2 separate regions of the Homo sapiens genome follow, and region 2 is linked to region 1. Evidence: promoter capture Hi-C in human tissues and cell types (Jung and others, 2019). All regions are on one chromosome and are shown on one strand. Each heading gives the region's core, a stretch centred on a gene start or on the middle of the fragment in contact. The rest is flanking DNA. Distances are from core to core; before and after follow the strand shown. Region 1 holds the start of ADNP2 (ADNP homeobox 2). Region 2 overlaps PARD6G (par-6 family cell polarity regulator gamma).

What was found. Contacts are between HindIII fragments. The study calls those that stand out against the background at their distance.
Region 2: a contact is called between a fragment that was not itself captured here and the fragment with the promoter of ADNP2 in region 1, in 2 of the 25 tissues and cell types used here (hippocampus and mesenchymal stem cells).

The regions. Positions count from the first base shown.
Region 1 is chr18:80,107,636-80,112,184 of GRCh38, reverse strand. ADNP2 (ADNP homeobox 2) reads right to left here and starts at 2,923. Exons shown (of 4, transcript NM_014913.4): 1 at 2,713-2,923. RefSeq lists silencers at 2,402-2,501, 2,702-2,861 and enhancers at 2,671-3,172, 3,999-4,500. The HindIII fragment of the contact is 8,526 bases long and covers 624-4,549 here.
Region 2 is chr18:80,221,177-80,225,607 of GRCh38, reverse strand. All of the region lies in intron 1 of PARD6G (par-6 family cell polarity regulator gamma), which reads left to right. Among named protein-coding and RNA genes, the nearest start is that of PARD6G, 24 kb to the left of the region's middle. The HindIII fragment of the contact is 7,222 bases long and covers 1-4,431 here.

The DNA.
Region 1 (4,549 bases), core at 1,674-4,173:
TCAATGTTTTCATATTTATAGATCCTCTATAGATACTGTTCTCCATAGAATCTTAGAGCTCAGTAAAATCTGTATTTTCACCATTAGAAAACAGCAGGCTAACCGGGGCGGCCAACTATTTCCACATCATGCACCAACCTATCAATTTCAATTCAAAATAAATCTCAATTCCTAATGTTTAGGGTAGGCATGGAACTACCATAAAATTCCACTGATATGCACAAGAAAATATTATTTCCCAAAAGGGTACATAAAGGACTTCTCTGGGGATTTTTTAGTATAATGATCTCGTAAGGATATTCTATTATAGAAAAAAAAATACATTCTAAAAGAAAATGTTGGCCGGGTGCAACGGCTCACACCTGTAATCCCAGCACTTTGGAAGGCTAAGGCGGGCAGATCACCTGAGGTCAGGAGTTGGAGACCAGCCTGACCAATATGGTGAAACCCTGTCTCTACTAAAAATTACCAAAAAATTGGCTGGGTCCTACTCGGGACGCTGAGGCAGGAGAATCGCTTGAACCCGGGAGACAGAGGTTGCAGTGAGCCGAGATCACACCACTGCACTCCAGCCTGGGCGACAGGGCAAAACTCCGTCTCAAAAAAAAAAAAAAAAAATGTCATTCAGGTAATACAGTAATAAACAATACTTTTTAAGCCACAGAACTTTTTTTTAGTTCCTGTGAAATCGCACAAAACGATGGTCACCAAAAAGGATTCTGGAGTTGTGTGCCCGGGTTTACATCAGCTCCACCATTTATGAGCTGTGTAATCTTCAGGAAATCACTTACTCTCTCCAGGCCTCAGCTGGCTCTTCTGTAAAACAGGGCGAGTATGACCTAATTCACAGAGTAGTTATGAGGATAAATGAGTTAATACATGCAAAACAGCACATAAGCACTGAGTTTGCTATTAATTAACTCCAAAAAACTAAATGAAATGTCCCAACTATTGGAATACAGGACTTTTTAAAAAGCAACTTTAAAAACACAGAATACTTGGATCATATATTCAGCAGATCTGGGTTCAAATCACTGGGAGATACCGGTTTCCACCTATGTAACACATTGCCCTAACAGGTCTAGGATAGCCAGAGGATGAAGGGCAGGGCAGAAACCAAGTTTGCAATATGCTATTGGTGAACTTATGAGGGCAATCATAAATTAACCAACAGCATATTGCAAACTTGGGTTCAAATTAAAAACGTGTCTCCCAAATCCCAGAATCTCTTCAGCTAAAAATCTTAGCATAGCTGTCATCTTCCCCCATAAACAGTGATCAACTCCTTTCAGACATGTCCTAACCCTCACTGTTCCTCCCCTCAACTAGAGGGCCGGTAGGACAACCTCTTGTCTCATCTTCACTCTTGTACTTCCTTTCTTAACACACATCTGTCACTTCATGTTTAAGGACGACGGGCTCAATGCTGTCTTCGCAGTGAAGTCCTAACTCCAACCGAAATTTAACCGAAATATTAATACACACTCATACATGGCCAACTCTCCAAGAACATCTTTAAATAAGTTACACATACATTACCGACTTCCAAATACAGCTGAACATGTACTTTACACAACTCTTTTTACATGTGGTCCTCTCTCCCACTAATGCTCCTCACCCCCAAAAATGGTACCCAGACTCCAAACCCCCTCTTTTGATAAAGGCTCTGCGTGGCAGATGCCCACAGTACTCTACAAACTGCTGCCCCACTTGCCAATCTGCATTGTCAGTTACCTGCTTACCAGTTTCTCCTCCCCCACCCCACTCCTCCACAGCCAGTATATTCCTCAAGATCCCAAGAGGCAGTGATTACCCGTGCAAATAGAGTAAGTTTTAAGCACGCAGGCAAGTCTTCTGTTCAAATAAACTACTTAAAATATCTAATTATTTCTCATTCTGCATCTGTACAGTATTTAAAAGGGCAGTTAAAATTAACATTCCAAAGTCAACTGTAGTAGAAATTTTGTAAACGGAATCTATTTCAATGCAACCAGCAACGGCAGATGAAAAGTAATGTTAAAGTCAACATCTGTATATCAATTATTGATATTCGCATCAAAAGCTCAACGATGAAGAAACAGGGCCCCGTTATCAGCTGTTCTTCAAACCTTTCTAGGGAAAAAAAAACCTGGGCAGATTTAGGTGTCACCGTCAGCTCCTGACCTACATCTGCCGTCACTCAAGGCTCCTCCAGAGAGAAGCTTCCAGGAGAACCCGGTCTCGGGGATGCGGCGGGCGGGCCAGCGGGCGGGGCGTTTCTGGAGTCCTTACAGGGGTCGCCACAGCTCCTTGCCCCCTCTCTTCTTCTCCATCCCCGTTCCCTCTCCCTCTACTCCTCGCTCCCTTCACCAGCCCCCCTCTCTCCCTCGGTCCCCGTCCTCGTCTTTCCCCTATTCCTACTCTCCCCTCAGGTCCCCATCCCCTTCTCCGCCCTCCCGGGGCGGCCCCCGCTCCCACGTGACCGGCGGCGGGCGGGGCGGGCCGCGGGCGCGTCGGGGGTCGACGGGCGCCGTTCGGGCCGCGAACCCGCGCCCTGAGAACGTCCCGGGATTCCCGAGGCGGCCACGGGCGGCGCGAGGGCAGGCGGCGGGCGTGGGTGTGGGCTGGGTACCGGCGGGGGCGGGGCTCGGAGGGGACCAGACTGGGGCGGGGGCCAGGACCGGGGCAGGGGGCGTCGCCGCGCGGGCCCGCGCCGGGCCGGGCCGTACCTACCGCTTGGCGCCCGAGGAGCACCGCGTCTCCGCTGCTGCCTCTCGCAGGGCTGCCGCGTCTTCCGCCGAGCGCAGCCGCGTCCCGTGGGGCCGCCTGCGCCCGCCCGCGCCTCCGCCCCGCGCGGCGGGACCCCCGCCTCAGCGCGCGCCCACCCCCAGCGCGACTGGTCCCCTCCTCCCGCGCAGCCAGAAAGAGAAAATGGCGCTCGATTGGCCTCAGGAAGTGACGTTGGCCCTCATTTGCATGTAGGCGCAGCCAGCCAATGAGAGCAGAGTGTGCTTGGGGGCCCCTGGCACTTCCCACAGGCCCCCCGGGGCCCCTGGCTAAAGATGGACTGGAGGCTCTGGGGTGGCAGTGGGGGGCCCCTGTTGGACCCCCTGACTCCCTTCTGTCCCAGGGAACTGCCCTGCCAGCTCCTTTCCACATCTGTGCAAACTCTCGTGAGAGTTTGAGTGGGCAATGACGTCACTAAAGGGGTGGGGAGAGTGTGTCATCAACCATGTGACTAATCACGTGGACTCACCACAGCTTTGACTTCATTTGCATGGAATGGGGTGGAGCTAGTGGCAGCTCCAGGAGTGGTGACCCCGCCCACATCTCAGAGCCAATGGGAGCCCAACTGTGATAATGCTGCCTTGCCATTGGAAGACAAAACTTTGGCTCCCAGAACTGGGACAAGTGTGCCATGATTGGCATATCCTGGTGAACCGACTAGCTGGGGTCTCCTGACTTCATCATTCCTGTGGGAAAGTGATCACACCTTCTCTTGAGAATTCTGATTTTTAGATCTACTACAAGTTGTGTGGGGAGAGGGTTAATTGCATACATTTGTATAAACTCTTAACCTAAAAGTTCATTTTTGCACAGGTGTTTATCAATTGTGTAGCAATAATAATTTATTCCACAAAATTAGTGGAAACATGGCGTAGGGCTTTCAAAATGGCTCTAGGTCTTCGTTCCGTGGAGTCCCCAGGCCTCTGGCGGACGCCCTCGTGCCCCAGAGCACGTGGGAGTAACCACGAGGGCAGCGCAGGCGCCTCCCCCAGTGCCCCTAACCTTAACCCTAATTCTGACCCTGCACCTGAACCTCACCTAGCACTAACCCTGACTCTGACCCTAACTCCCCTCCAGTGTTCCTTCCCCTGACCCTAACTCAGCCGCGCCCTCAGTGGCTGTTCCAGGCAGTTCCTTCTTGGCGAAGCCGTCTGCAGGACACGTGCCCCTTTCAGCACAAGGCCACGTCTCCTTCCAGAGCGCCGAGCCCCTGCAACCCGCCGCCAGCCTCCAGCCCTGAGGCCCACTCCAGCCACCGCGGGGCAGAGGCCGTGCCCAGGCTGGGCCTTCCGCCCACCGCCCTCTCCAGAGCCTCCTTGTCACCATCCGCTCGTCCATAATTTCAGCTTTTCCCTCTCAATGGGAGCCTTCTGCTCAGTTTAGCCCAGTGACTAAACACATAATAGGCACTAAATTAATGTCCATATTCGTTTTAAAACTGTGTTAAATGGTGGGCCGATATGACCTGACCAAAATTTGCTTTTTTCCTACATGAATACAAGTCATAATTGAAGTAGAGTTTGCCCTTTATGTTTGCTGACAAGTTAAGATTTTACTTTGAGTTACAGTGGTAAATGGGTGTGATGTCCCTATATATCTTCCTTGCAAAATTATGGGTGGGATGAAAAGTGTAGTTAAAGCCTGCAGTCTCCCATTGATCCTCTAGTGACCTCTCATTTTATCACATTTCTCAAAACAGCAGTCCCTGTGTCTGTCTCCTCAGCCCCCTGCACGCCTCTCGCCCCCACCCTCACCACTCTGCAGAAACGCCTTGGTCACCAGC
Region 2 (4,431 bases), core at 282-2,781, 110 kb before region 1:
TTTGCCCTTCAAGTTTAATTTTGCTTTTTTGTGAAAACCAGCCTGAAGGGGGAGGTGAGCTGGGAGGGAATCGAGCCAGCACTGTGGCAGAGAGTGAGCAGGATAACTGTGAAGGGGACATTCAGTTGTCTGCCTCTATAAAGGGGATGCTACATCTCCCAAGTGGCTTAAAGATTAAAAATCATGTATGTGCATCTCATGCCCCAAGCAGCTATGAGAACTTTAACATGGCAATGGGCCTTTGCATGAGTGATGGAAATGGCCAGGAGCTTCCCTCCCTTTGGTTTGTTGAAGAACAGCACGTGGGTCCAGGCCCTAAGGGTCCTCCCTAGTGTGAAAGGACCTAGGTGACAAGAAAATACTGTTAAAATTCTCCTCTTCATTATTTTGGACCCTTTGTAAAGGAAAAGCAGACATGAGTCCAACATGCGGTGATGGCTGCTTCGTGCGTAGACTGAGAAACGGTGCCGCAGTTCCTTGGGGATGGTTCTGAGCCAGAGCTGCACTTTGATCAGCAAAAGCGTGACATCCTAAAGTTTTTTAGTCACTAGTAGCTGACTGAGTTTAAGATGAAACCAGCAGGGGACTATGTTTTCAGTGGTAAGAAGAATGCCTACACAGTTGGAGCACTGGGCCAGAGTCAGGAAATGAGGGTCTTAGTTCCAGCCTGGAATCAAGTTTCTCTGTAGCTTTTGGGCAAGTCTTTCACCCTCTCTGAGCCTTCAGTGCAGGGGCTTGGACTGTCACTTTCTTTTTTTTTTGAAACGGAGTCTCACTCTGTCGACCAGGCTGGAGAGCAGTGGCGCGATCTCGGCTCACTGCAACCTCCGCCTCCCAGGTTCACGCCATTCTCCTGCCTCAGCCTCCCAAGTAGCTGGGACTACAGGCGCCCGCCATCACGCCCGGCTAATTTTTTGTATTTTTAGTAGAGATGGGGTTTCACCGTGTTAGCCAGGTTGGTCTTGAACTGCTGACCTCGTGATCCGCCCGCCTCGGCCTCTCAAAGTGCTGGGATTACAGGCGTGAGCCACCGCACCCGGCCTTGGACGGTCACTTTCAATTGGGAAGCTTATGATTTAATTCAGGGCATGAAGACAGATATCCAGCTTTGAAGCACACACCAAACATGAGCCCTGTTTGTGCCGACAGTGAGAGAACCTCACATGATGAGGAGGTTTGTCCAGAACATACTGAATCAGGGCCCAGGCAGTCAGGCAGGCCAAAAGGATTTTGGATTTTTGTTTTAGACAGAAAAAGACTTTCATACCTTCTAGAGTCATTCATGCTCTGATTTGTTTAAACGTATGGTAAATTTAGATAGACCTCTTAGGTATCAAGAAAATTTTATGTTTGTAATATCTTTTAACCTGGAAGGTAAGACATAATCGTGTTAATGGTGATGAGTTATCCTTCAGTATAGAAGTTGAATAATGAAAATAGGTTTATATTGCCAGAGCCCTGTGACTCCAGAAATATCATTCATATACAGTTTTGGTTTCTGAATTAGAGAAGGAGGACTGAGGACTTTTGTAGTTTGGGGTCAGGGTGGAGACAGGCATGTGAGGGAAGGCAAGTTCTACCCTGTTCGGAGTGCCTGCCCTCTGTCCTCCTTACCCAGCCAACACTGTTGGGTCCATTTTAACTGGAAAAGCCAGCCCTGCCAGCTGGGTTGGACCAAACCTCATATCCTGTGCCTCCTCTGTAAGGCCCAGCAGTGATGAGGCATGAGCCTTCCCTGAGTTCTTAACTCTTCATCTTCTAAATGGGTTGTGTGCTTACAGCAGATGCTGGCCTCCCTTGGTCCCTTGGAACATCCTGTTTGCCTGGAGCAAAAGCAGAGTCTCCACTGAGTGCCTGCTGGTGCCGTCCTCGGGGTTGTCATGTTTCTGAACATGGCTTCTAGTTAGCCTTCAATTTCTGGGTCACATGGTAACTCAACATTTTGAAGAACTCCCAGACTGTTTACAAAATCATTTGCACCGTTTTACATTCCTAACAAAAATGTGTGAGGGTTAAGATTCCCACACGTTCTTATCAGCATGTTATCTTTTTTATTACAGCCAACCTGGTGAGTCCGAGGTAGTGACTCCTATGCTTTTGATTTTTTGGTCATCTGTGTATCTTTTTTGGGGAATGTCTATTAAAGTTATTTGACCATTTTTAATGGGGTTGTCTTTTATTATAGAGTTTTAAGAGTTTTCTTTTAATATGCCTTATCAGAGGCACAAGTCCCTTATCAGAGATCTGATTTGCAAATATTTTCTGTCATTCTATAGATTACCTTTTCACTTTCTTCATGATGTTCCTTGAAGCACAAAGGTTTTTAAGTTTAATGAAGTCCAGTTTATCTTTTTTTTCTTTTGTGGTTTCTGCTTTTGGCATCATATTTAAGAAATTATTGCCTAACTCCAGTAATGATAATTTAATTCTATGTATTTGTCTAATAGTTTTATAATTTTAGCTCACATTTAGTCTGTAATCCAATTTGAGTTACTTTTTATATATGGCATGAGGTAGAGGTCCAGCTTTATTGTTTTGCATGTGGATATGCAGTTGTCCCAGCACCATTTGTTGAAAAGACTGTTTTTTCCTCATTGAATTGTCTTAACATTCTTGTCAAAAATAAATTGATTACCAGCTGCAGTAGCCCATGCCTGTAATCCCAGCACTTTGGGAGGCTGAGGCAGGTGGATTGCTTGAGTCCAGGAGCTCAAGACCAGCCTGGGCAATATGGTGAAACACTGTCTCTACAAAAAAAATACAAAAATTAGCCAGATGTGGTGGCGTGCACCTGTAGTCCCAGCTACTTGGGAGGCTAAGGTGAGAGGATTGCTTGAGCCCAGGAGATGGACGTTTTAGTGAGCCAAGATCATGCCACTGCACTCTAGCCTAGGTGACAGAGCAAGACCCTGTCTTAAAAAATGAATAAATAAATAAATTGATGACAAATGTAAGGTTTTTTTCTGTACTCTCAATTCGGTTCCCCTGGTCGTTTATACGTCTCTATGTTAGTACTATGTGTAAGTTTTGAAATTGGGAAGTGTGAGTTCTTCAACTATGTTTTTCGTTTTCAAGATTCTTCTGGATATAGTGAGACCTTTGAATTTAGGATCAGCTTGCTGACTACTACAGAAGATACAGCTAAGATTCTGATGGGGTTGTATTGAATCTGTAGATCAATTTGGGGAGTATTGCTGTCTTAACAATATTAAGTCTTCCGGCTGGGTGCCATGGCTCATGCTTATAGTCCCAACACTTTGGGAGGCCAAGGCAGAAGGATCACTTGAGCCTAGGAGTTCGAGACCAGCCTGGGTAACATAGGAATGACTCCATCTCTACAAAATTAAAAAAAAAAATTAGCCAGGTGTGGCGGCGCATGCCTGTAGTTCCAGCTACTTGGCAGGCTGATGCAGGAAGATCACTTGAGCCCAGGAGGTTGAGGCTGCAGTGAGCTGTGATTGCACCACTGCACTCCAGCCTGGGTGACAGAGCAAGACTTCATTTAAAAAAAAAAGAAAAAAGAAAAAAATTAAGTTTTCTAATCCATGAGCATGAAATGTCTTTCCATTAATTTAGATCTTCTTTATTTTTTCAACAATATTCTGTAGTTTTCAATGTATAAATCTTTCACTTATTTTGTTTATTCCTGTTTTATCCTTTGTAATGCTATTGTTAATGGAATTTTCTTAATTTTTAGATTGTTCATTGCTACTGCTTAGAAATACAGTTTATTTTTGTATGTGGATATTGTATACTAAAATCATGCTGAATTCATTTATTAACTCTAATAAGGTTTTGTTTATGGATTCCTTAGGATTTTCTATATACAAATGCATATCATCTGTGAATAGAGATATTTTAACTTCTTCCATTCCAATCTGATGTCTTTTATTTTCTTGCCTTTCCTGGGTCGAAACTACAGTACAGTGTTAAATAGATGATGTGAAAGTAGACATTCTTGTTTTGTTGTTGATCTCGGGGAAAATCATTGTCTTTTAACCATTAAGTATGATGTTAGCGGTGAGTTTTCATAGATATTCTCTATGTAGGATGAAGAAGTCTCTTTCTATTCCTAGTTTGTTGAGTGTTTTTAATCATAAAAGAGTGTTAGATTTTGTCAAATGCTCTTTTTGTATCTATTGACATGATCATATGGCTTTTGTCCCTTTAATATTGTTTATTACATTGACTGATTTTGGAATGCTAAACCAACCTTGCATTCATGTGATAAATCTCACAGGTCATGGTGTGTGGTCCTTTTTATATGTTGCTAGATATGGTGTGCTAGTATTCTCTTGAGGATTTTTGTGTCTCTATTCATAACAGATATTGGACTGTAGTTTTCTTTTCCTGTAATGTCTTTTTCTGGTTTTGATATCAGGTGAAAGCTGACCTCATAGCATAAATTGGCATCCCTCTTATTTTTTGGAA